Regions from separate parts of the Homo sapiens genome. Here all the other regions are linked to region 3. Evidence: promoter capture Hi-C in human tissues and cell types (Jung and others, 2019). All regions are on one chromosome and are shown on one strand. The core of a region is centred on a gene start or on the middle of the fragment in contact, and the rest is flanking DNA. Distances in the headings are between cores, read along the strand shown. Region 1 holds the start of CASP14 (caspase 14). Region 2 holds the start of OR1I1 (olfactory receptor family 1 subfamily I member 1). Region 3 has its middle 3.9 kb from the start of CYP4F8.

Evidence for each region. Contacts are between HindIII fragments. The study calls those that stand out against the background at their distance.
Region 1: the fragment with the promoter of CASP14 here is called in contact with a fragment that was not itself captured in region 3 in 4 of the 25 tissues and cell types used here (bladder, dorsolateral prefrontal cortex, lymphoblastoid cells and 1 more).
Region 2: a contact is called between the fragment with the promoter of OR1I1 here and a fragment that was not itself captured in region 3, in 7 of the 25 tissues and cell types used here (aorta, dorsolateral prefrontal cortex, heart left ventricle and 4 more).

The regions. Positions count from the first base shown.
Region 1 is chr19:15,047,466-15,050,978 of GRCh38, reverse strand. CASP14 (caspase 14) reads right to left here and starts at 1,499. Exons shown (of 7, transcript NM_012114.3): 1 at 1,334-1,499. The HindIII fragment of the contact is 29,360 bases long and covers 1-3,513 here.
Region 2 is chr19:15,080,901-15,084,222 of GRCh38, reverse strand. OR1I1 (olfactory receptor family 1 subfamily I member 1) reads right to left here and starts at 2,012. Exons shown (of 2, transcript NM_001004713.2): 1 at 1,947-2,012. The HindIII fragment of the contact is 16,029 bases long and covers 1-3,322 here.
Region 3 is chr19:15,609,666-15,613,047 of GRCh38, reverse strand. It overlaps the pseudogene RPL23AP2. Among named protein-coding and RNA genes, the nearest start is that of CYP4F8, 3.9 kb to the left of the region's middle. The HindIII fragment of the contact is 7,491 bases long and covers 1-3,382 here.

The DNA of each region.
Region 1 (3,513 bases), core at 250-2,749, 560 kb after region 3:
TCAGTCATCCCATCCACCCATCCTTCCACCCGCACATCTATCTAGTCATCCATCAATCCAATTTAACATCCATCCTTTTATTCATCAACCCATCCACCAATTTATCTTTCCACTTACCTATCTATCCACTCATCCATCCATCCATCCACCCACTCACACATCTATTCATCCGTCTGTCTACCCATCTATTAATCAGTCATCCCATATACCCATTCATTCTTCCATCAACCCATTTATCTACCCATCCATCTATCTATCCATCCACTTATTCATCCAACCACTCATTCATTCATCCATCCATCCATCCATTCATCCATTATCTCTCTCTGTCTTCCATCCCTCCATCTATTCTATCTTCCAACTATCCCTCCATCTAGCCCTCCTTCTATCCATTCCTTCATCCATCATCTCTATCTTCCATCTATCCATCCACCTATTTACTTATCCATCTACCCACCCACCCATCCATCCATCCATCCATCAATCCATCCACCCACCCACCCACCTACCCAGCAAATATTTTCTGGGTATCTATTATGTGTTATGCACTTAGAATCCATTAAGTAAGACAGACATGCTCCCTGACTTTCTGTCCTTCTGTAGCTCTAGTCTGTGACAGAAATGAATATTAAATCTCTCTCTCTCTCTCTCTCTCTCACACACACACACTCACACACACACACAGCAAGTGCTGTGACGAAAGAGGAGCCAAAGATTGTGAGGGAGGAAGTGGAAGGAGCATAGCCCTGGAGCCAGAACCGAATCCTGCCTCAGTCCCTTCCCAGCTGTGTGACCTTCGGCATCTCACTCTCCTCTCTGAGACTCGATTTTCCCATCCGCAAAGGACCTGGGGAGAGCTCTAGGTGCTTAACAGCAATGGTGACCCAGGTAGGTTTTAGGATCCCTCTTGACCTCCTGGAACTTTCCTCTTCCTTCTCTGGACTCTCACAGCTCTGCTTGCTCCTACTTGAATTACAGCAGTGTTTTTGATTCTTACTCTCATGGCTGAACTGGCAGCTCAGTTTTCAGGACTGAAAGCCTGACTTCATTATCTCTGTCTCCATCATGGCCAACAGTGTGGCAGGGAGCACAGAGGTGGTGTTGGAGAGAATTTGCTGAGTAAACAAATAAGAAAAAAATGAACAGATGAAAAGAAAGAGGGGATGGATGGAAATTTCTTCCATTCTGCCAAAACTGGCCAGAGCATTAATTCATGAAGGGAGAGGGAGCGTATGTGTGTATGTGCGTGTGTGTGTGTGTGTGTGTGTGTGTGTGTGTGTGAGAGAGAGAGAGAGAGAGAGAGAGAGAGGCTAATATCCACCAAATCACTTACCAACTCTAGAGGCAGCTGTTCCTCAAGGCCAAGTTCAATCTCACTACTCTCCTAGTTGCCAATACTGAGCTGGGCACCGAGGAGGAGTCAGGCCCACGTACTGATCTTGGAGAAGGGGCTGACAGTGTGGAATCTCCCGGGGTTTCTCCTGAGAAGCCTGGTCTATGAATCGGGTGGCACAATCACCTGGCCCTTTATTGTCGGTGAGTTTTCTGTCACTCAAGAAACCTCATGACACACCCTTGGCACACAGCTGTGGTGTGGAAATGGAGCCAACGCCAATGGGATGAGTGATCGCAAGGCTGAGGGGACTCCCTCTGGCAAAGGTGGCCTAGGCAGAGAGTCTAAATGAGTCAGATGTCTGTGCCAGCCCAGCCACAACCTCTCCCAACCCCCATCCCATAGCCAGCCCATCTGGTTATTACCATCATCATTATGCCTAGTTTATTCATCTCACCTTCCACTGTGTAGATAACACCGACTTCACTTAGTTATTATCTCATCGAGTCTTCAAGAGTCTAGACAGATCAGTATTTTTGCTCCCATTTTGCAGATGGAGAAACTGAGGCTCATAGAGGTGAAATGACTGCCCAAGGTCAGCAATTGGCACAGTTGGCATTCAACCCTATAAGGGGTGAGGTGTGGTGGGTCACGTCTGTAGTCCCAGCGCTTTGGGAGGCCAAGGCAGGAGGATCGCTTGAGGTGAGGAGTTTGAGACCAGCCGGGGCATAGTGAGACCCTGTCACTAAAATAATAATAATAATAAAAATGATGGCATATACCTATAGTCCTAGCTACTCAGGAGGCTGAGGTAGGAGGCTGGCTTGAGCCTAGGAGTTTGAGGCTGCAGCGAGCTAAGATTGTGCCTCTGCACTCCAGCCTGGGTGACAGAGCAAGACTCTGTCTTAAATATAAAAACAAACAAACAACCCCTAAAATGTTCCAGCCCAGTTGCCTTAACTGATGCATCATGATGATTCCTCTCTTCCTCCTCCTCTTATTATTTTTCAGCCATTTTGTTTCATTTTATTTCTTATGTTAATAGTGAAACCAAAGGCGAACCTGATTAAGCCCTCCAGACTTAATCTGCCTTGCGTTTAATTGCTTACTTACTTTTAATTGCTTACTTATAGTTGATCTTAAAAGCGCCACTAGCAAGTCACGTAGCCAAATAATGCATAACTAAACTCCCACTGGCTTCCTTACAGATAACATTTTTGTCTGTGGGACACTATAGTAATGGGTGCTTAAAGTTGTTTTTCAGGAACTAGGTAGGAGGCAGCTCTTGTTTAGTTTAAGCCAGTGGAGATCACTGACCCTTCAACTGCACCTATGTGGGTAGCTGATATCAGAGGGCCGTAAACTCCACCTTCAGATCATGCTAAATGCTATTTTTTGCACAAATGTCCTATCTAAAGCCATGTAGCTCAACCATGCTTGCTCAGAAATTCTGATTACCTCACCTTCCCTACCTGCCAGTCACCTTTCTCCGTACTTTAGATCACCCCGTTTTCTATCCCATAAGCACCCTCAAACCCTATTTTTGGGGAGGAGAATTTGAGACCTGTTTTACCACCTCGTCGCTTAATTGCCTCATGAACGAACTCTTCCTCTTCTGCAAAATCTGTCATTACATTGATTGGCTTGCTGCACAGAGGAAGAACAAACTCGGTTCGATAGCAACAGCTTAAATGAGATATAATTTACGTATTATACAATTCACCCACCTGAAGTGTGCAATCCAGTGGGTTTCAATATATTCACAGTGATGCAACCATTGCGTCAGTTCATTTTGGAACATTTTGTTTTTTCTTTTTTCGGAGATAAGATCTGTCACCCAGGCTGGAGTGCAGTGGAGCGATCACAGCTCACTGCAGCTTAAAACTCCTGGGCTTATTCGATCCTTCCACCTCAGCCTCCTGGGCAGCTGGGACTACAGGTGTGCACGTACATGCCTTGCTACTTTTTTCCTCAAGATTTTTTGTAGAGACAAAGTCTTGCTGTGTTGCCCAGGCTGGTCTCGAACTTCTGGCCTCAAGGGATCCTCCCCACTCGGCCTCCCAAAGTGTGAGATTACAGGCGCGGGCCACCACACCTGGCTCATTTTAGAACATTTTTATCACCCCCCAAAAGAATCCCAGTACCCTTTAGCTATCACTCCCAATCTCTCCATACATCCC
Region 2 (3,322 bases), core at 763-3,262, 530 kb after region 3:
TTAGCTACAATTTACAGTGAGCAGACTGGGGCTGAGCGAGCTGCCAGGGGCACTCAGCTTGCAAGTGCCTGATCTCGCCTTTGAATTTAGACTTATTTTCACTCTCATACTCCACTGCCTCCCTAAGAATGGCCACTCTCACCTCTTTATGAGGCATTTCGAAGCTAAATTCTGTGCTGTCAACACGTGCAAGGGAAAAATATTCAATTACAAGCATTTACACGTGTTTCTTTTCGAGACAGAGTCTCACTCTGTCACCTAGGCTAGAGTACAGTGGCACGATCTCGGCTCACTGCAACATCCGTCTCCTGGGTTCAAGTGATTCTTGTGCCTCAGCCACCCGAATAGCTGGGATTACAGGTGTGCATCACCACGCCCGATTAATTTTTGTATTTTTAGTAGAGACGGGGTTTCGCCTCTACTAAGCCTGTTGGCCAGGCTGGTCTTGAACTCCTGACCCGGTGATCCGCCCACCTTGGCCTCCCAAAGTACTGAGATTACAGGCGTGAGCCCAGTAATCTCATCATTTCAGCGCCCAGCCGATGAAAGGGGTTTTTAGGAAGGTTAGCAGCATAATCTCCTTGGTAACCCCAAGAGGCCTTCAGCAAAGCCCTATGTTAACTTTTTGAGGCTTTTTAGTGTTGGACTTGAGGTTTTTGCAATGCAATGCTTGGTTTTCTCTAGGCTGGATAGAATACTGCGATTCCCTTCCTGGCAACATATTTGTAACAGTCCTCAGTTGTTGACTTGGGTTGCATAGAGCAGCGGTTCTCAACCTTGAGCACGCTTCAGGGTCACCTGGAAGGCTTGTTAAAACACAAAAAGCGGGCCAGGCATGGTGGCTCACACCTGTAATCCCAGCACTTTGGGAGGCTGAAGTGGGAGAATTGCTTGAGGCCAGGAGTTCAAGACCAGCCTGGCAGACAAAGTGAGGCCACCCCACCCCCAATCCCGCCCTGGATCTACAAAAAATAAAACAATCTGCTGGGCATGGTGGCATGCTTCCATAGTCCCAGCTACTCAGAAGGCTGAGGTGGGAGAATCCCTTGAGTCCAGGAGTTAGAGACCAACCTGGGCAACACAGTGAGACCCCCATCTCTACAAAATAAAAAATTAGCTGGACATGGTGGCACACACCTGTTAGTCCCAGCTGCTTGGGGGGCCAAGGTAGGAGGATCTCTTGAGCCCGGGAGTGTGAGACCATCCTGGGCAACATAGGAAGATCCCTGCCTCTACGAAAATAAAATTAGCCAGGCATGGTGGTATATGTCTGTTATCCCAGGTACCCGGGAGGCTGAGGAGGGAGGATCACTTGAGCTTGGGAGGTCGAGGCTGCGATGAGCTATGATAATGCCACTGCACTCCAGACTGGGCAACAGAGCGAGACCCTGTCTCAAAAACAGAAAGAACAAACAAACAAACAAAACAATCCCCCCGCCCCCTCCCCCCCGCTCCCAAACTCATCATACACAAAAAGCTAAGCCCTTTCCCTGAAATGTCTGGTGTAAGAACCAGCACTTCTAGATAGTTTCCAGAGGATGCTGGTGCTTCTAGCCCAGGGACCACACTTGGGGAGCTGCTGCATTGGAGAAACTTGTTTCTCAAGACCTCTCCTATCTGTGCAGGTGTCCTGCAGCTGCAGACCCTCAGTGCTTTTCCTCCACATATCCTGCCACAGAGGGTCTGCCGTCTGCGTGCTTTGTCCACTCAGAGAGTCTAGACTTGGTCTCAGTCTCTTCTCTCTCTCTCGGCCTCTAGGAAGGAGACAGATTCCTCTCCCACAACCCTCCACCCCCACCCTCAGCTCAATCCTTTCCCCATCCCTCACCTGCTCACCAGGATGGCATCACCAAGGGGAGGGTCCCGGGAAGCCTCCTTCTCCACCAACTGCTAGAGGATCCCGAGGTCAGCACTAAACCCCTAGGAAGGGCATGGGGGCTACTCACCTGTGATCGCTGGGGTTAGCCTGATGTCTATGGGAAGGATTCATATGTGTACCCCCCCGCCCCCAGACTCTGCAGGTGAGTGGGGGAGCCAGGGGAACATCAGGGTATTTATAGTCTGGGGACTCTAGGAGACTTCGTCCCCATAGCTCCTTGTTAAGGAAGCGGATGCTAATTATTTTGTTTCTCCTCTGCCACATGTGACCTGTTCTTTTGGAGATGGGTGTGCTTTGGGATCATCGAGTGGGTAAGAAGAGGAAACAGTGACTAGGGATTCACTCTCACTAGGACATCTCCCTACGGTCTCCTTCCAGCTCAGGCTGAGCTTCATGGAAGCTCCCAGGCAGAGAGGTCTGGGGGGTCCCAGACTCCAGTCGGGCACTCAGATGCCTGAATCTGAGAGGTCCTTTCATTCATTGCATTATGGAAGAAACTGGCTCATTAAGGAAAGCTCCGAAGAGTATCAATCAATCAATAAATCGGTATTAAATAAATAAATTTATCAAACACTTTTTTTTGAGATGGAGTGTCACTCTTTCACCCAGCCTGGAGCACAGTGGAGCAATCTCGGCTCACTGCAACCTCCACCTCCTGGGTTCTAGCAATTCTCCCTCCTCAGCCTCTTGAGTAGCTGGAATTACTGGTGCCCACCACCATGCCCAGCTAGTCTTTGTATTTTTAGTAGAGACAGGGTTTCACCATGTTGGAAAGACTGATCTCAAACCTCAAGTGATCTGCTCTCCTCGGTCTCCCAAAGTGCTGGGATTACAGGCCTGAGCCACTGTACCCGGCCTATCAAACACTTCTTGATCACCTGCTTGGCACTGGAGTTGGACACGGTGGCTCATGCCTATAATCCTAGCTACTTGGGAGGCCAAGGTTGGAGAATCCCTTGAGCCTAGAAGTTTGAGACCAGCTTGGGCAAAACAGCAAGACCTTATATCTACAAAAAATTTAAAAAAATTAGCCAGGATTGGTGGCACATGCCCGTGGTCTCAGTTACCCAGGAGGCTGAGGTGGGAGGATCACTTGAGCCCTGGAGGTTGAGGCTGCAGTGAGCTGTGATCGCACCACTGCATTCCAACCTGGACAACGGAGTGAGACCCTGTCTCTTAAAAAAAAAATCCTTCCTATCAGCCACACAGAACGTGTGTAGGATACTTGTTGAAATTCTCCTAGGGGCTTTAGTAAATATTAGAATTACTTTCCCTAATAATATTGGCTGTTGGACTGTTGGCTCTTGGATCGTAACTCTGTGGGGAGGTCAGCTTCAAAGCAAGAACAAGGTAGACCAACTTCGCGTTGGACATATGGGGATATGAGTAGGTGCCAATCCCACTGTCATTATTTTTTTAAAATTAAAATTATTTTCAGAGGCT
Region 3 (3,382 bases), core at 506-3,005:
AAGCTGGTGCTTCTCTGCAGGGGCCCTTCCACCCCTACCCAGAGTGGGGCAGTGGGAAAGTGCACCAGACCACAGAGTGACCAGCCTCAGTCACCACCCATCAATTCCTAAGCCTAAGTCTTCACATCTGACAAATGTGTCTCCTAAAGCATCACAAAGCATTGCCAGCATTCTATCAGACACAGGGAGAGAGAGCAGAGAATAAGTTCCAAATTAAAGATGTGAGTAATGGTCCCATCAATATAAAAAACGTACGAGTGTATGTGTATGTGTCTGTATGTACACATGTGTATGCACACTGAAAAAAATCCAGAAGAATGCACATACCACGATGGAATTGGAGAAATTACAATTGGAGTAGAAACCTTTTAACTTTCTACACGTCTCTGTTGCTTCGTTTTTCAAGCTGGGATGCTATAAATGTAATAATTAAAACAATTTTTTTTTTCCTCTGAAGTCCTTGTCCTTTATTGGGCAAGGGGTGAGGGAAGCAGACAGACCGGTTGGACACAGTAGATGGGTGTGTGAGGACAAAATGCTACCAGAAAGCCAGCCAATCCACACTCCCCTGAAATGGATGCTAACGCCCTTCAAACCCTGGGCATTGGTTTCATACACAGCCTCTTCCAGGGATAAAAGGGGTTCTTGTACAGCTTCTTGTTACCCTCAACCATGGAGGCAAGTTCTGAGTTCTGGTTTTCCTAGGACACTAACTCTAGTCACAAAGATCTCTGGAGTGATCACACATGGTGGAGTGGCAGGGTGAATATTTCAAAAGGATAAGTAGAACAGGAGTCTTGCCCAAGCCCTGTCATGTCAGTGTCTGTGTGTGGCCTCCCAGCCCAACCAGAAATTGACAGAGAGGCATGTATATGGTGAAAAGATATATATATATATATTCAGAATTAGGCAGCTGCACTCAGTTTAGATAATCCCAATTTTGTTGGCAACATCCAAAGCATCGTAATCAGGAGTCAGTCGAACATATACCTTCTTCTCTCCATCAGGCCGAATCAGGGTGTTGACCTTGGCCACATCAATGTCATAGAGCTTCTTCACAGCCTGTTTGATCTGGTGCTTGTTGGCTTTAACATCCACAATGAACACAAGTGTGTTGTTGTCTTCTATCTTCTTCATGGCAGACTCAGTGGTCAGCGGAAACTTGATGATAGCATAGTGGTCAAGCTTGTTTCTCCTGGGAGCGCTCTTCCGAGGATATTTGGGCTGTCTCCGGAGTCGCAGTGTCTTCGGCCGCCGGAAGGTGGGTGACGTGTGGATCTTCTTTTTGTGGCTGTGGACACCTTTCAACACTGCCTTCTTGGCCTTTAAAGCCTTCGCTTTGGCTTCGGCTTTAGGAGGGGCAGGAGCTTCCTTCTTCACTTTCGGCACCATCTTGTGAAAAGGGTCCAAAACAAATTTTTTTAAATAAATAAGGATTTGGTACAGTGGGGACACAGTTGATCCACAACATAGGTGAGTAGTTCTGTTTCGTTTTGTTTTGTTTTGCTTTGCTTTGTTTTTTGAGACAGAGTCTCACTTTGTCACCCAGGCTGGAGGGCAATGGTGCCAATCTCGGCTCACTGAAACCTCCGCCCCACCAGGTTCAAGCGATTATCCTACCTCAGCCTCCCGAGCAGCTGAGATTACAGGCATGAGCCACCACACCCAGCTAATTTTTGTATTTTTAGTAGAGACAGGGTTTCACCATATTGGCCAGGCTGGTCTCCAACTCCTGACCTCAAGTGATCCAACCACCTCGGCCTCCCAAAGTGCTGGGATTACAGGCGTGAGCCACTGCGCCCAGCCAATAGGTGAGTTGTTCTTACTGTGTCACCATGAAGACCCAGCTCCCAGGAATCGGCCTGCAGTCTCCCTAGAACAAGCACACGGGCTGCCCACTAGCTGGAGTTTCACCTTCCCTGTCCTTGAATGCTCAGGAAGGAACACATTCTGGCTTCAGCACAACTGAGTTCAAGTCCAGGCTCTGCCACTCACTAGCTGTGTAACCCTCTGAGTCTCATAGCCTCCTCGATAAAATGCAAAGGTCAAGTTCTAACTTTTAGGTAATTAGTTTCTCAACAACAAACTTCACATGAACACTTAAATGGTAGCAGGCATGGTGCTAGGACCTGGGACACAGGTTGAACAAGACAGACGTGGTCTCTGCTGATAACCTACCAGTCACATTAGTCCCAATTAGCCCCCGGAAAAGATCTCTTGATGCATGGGTTACATCCTGTTCCTGAGTAAAGAATCTTGTGAGTTCCTCAAATCTTATCTTTAATTACTCAGATCTTATGAGTTCTTCCAACTGTTGATGTTCTGATTTTCCACTGATATGGAAAAGCACAATCCTTTGTTTCTAAACCATGAAGTTTTGCTTTATATTTATAAATCATAAAGTTTTTCTTTTCTTTTCTTTTTTTTTTTGAGACAGGGTCTTTGTCACCCAGGCTGGAGTGCAGTGGCGCAGTCTCATCTTACTGCAACCTCCATCTCCTAGGTTCAAGCAACCTTCCTGCCTCAGCCTCTCGAGTTGTTGGGATTGCAGGCATGTGCCACCATGCCCAGCTAATTTTTGTATTTTTAGTAGAGCAGAGTTTCACCATATTGGCTAGGCTGGTCTCGAACTACTGGCCTCAGGAGCGATGAGCTTCTCCTCAAGGGATCTGCCCGTCTCAACCTCCCAAAGTGCTGGGATTACAGGCATAAGCCACTGTGCCCTCTCTTATAAAGTTTCACTGATGGTTTTACATACAAAATGTTTTAGCCTGTATGTTATAACCTGTATCTAATCATTATGACCTCTGTATTATACCCTCCAATAAAAACAGACAATTCTGATATAAGAAGTTCCCTTCTCTTCTCCTAAACTTTCTTATAAAAACATTCCAAATTGTAAAAGATTCTGGCACACATCCAAATGTGTTGGTGCATCTTTCTGGGTTGATCCTCACCTTTGGCTTCAAATAAACCCTTATCAAAGTATTTCTGCCTCGGCAGCTTTAATTTCACTCCACAAAATGATGTAGTCATCAGTGTTTCAGAGTGGCCTCCCTGGTCACCCTGGACCTTCCTGAGCAGGTTTCAACCTTCATGCACGGAATCCATCGTGTTCCCCCAACTGGGATGCCCCTGCTGGATGCAACAGATAAGTTTCTCCTGAAATCAACGAACTTCCTGTTTTAGGCAAAGTTCTGCCTTATTGAAGCTGCTTTCCCCCTTGGCTAGGAGGTGCAGTGATGTTCTCAGAATAAGAGCTACTGCTACAAATTTAAGGTAAGGGTTTTTGTTGAATTCTAGGGCAGGGTAAAATAGGATCTTTGTGAATGGTTTCTCTAGGGGGTTGGGGAGAGACAAACTTTCCTTCGTTTTATCATTT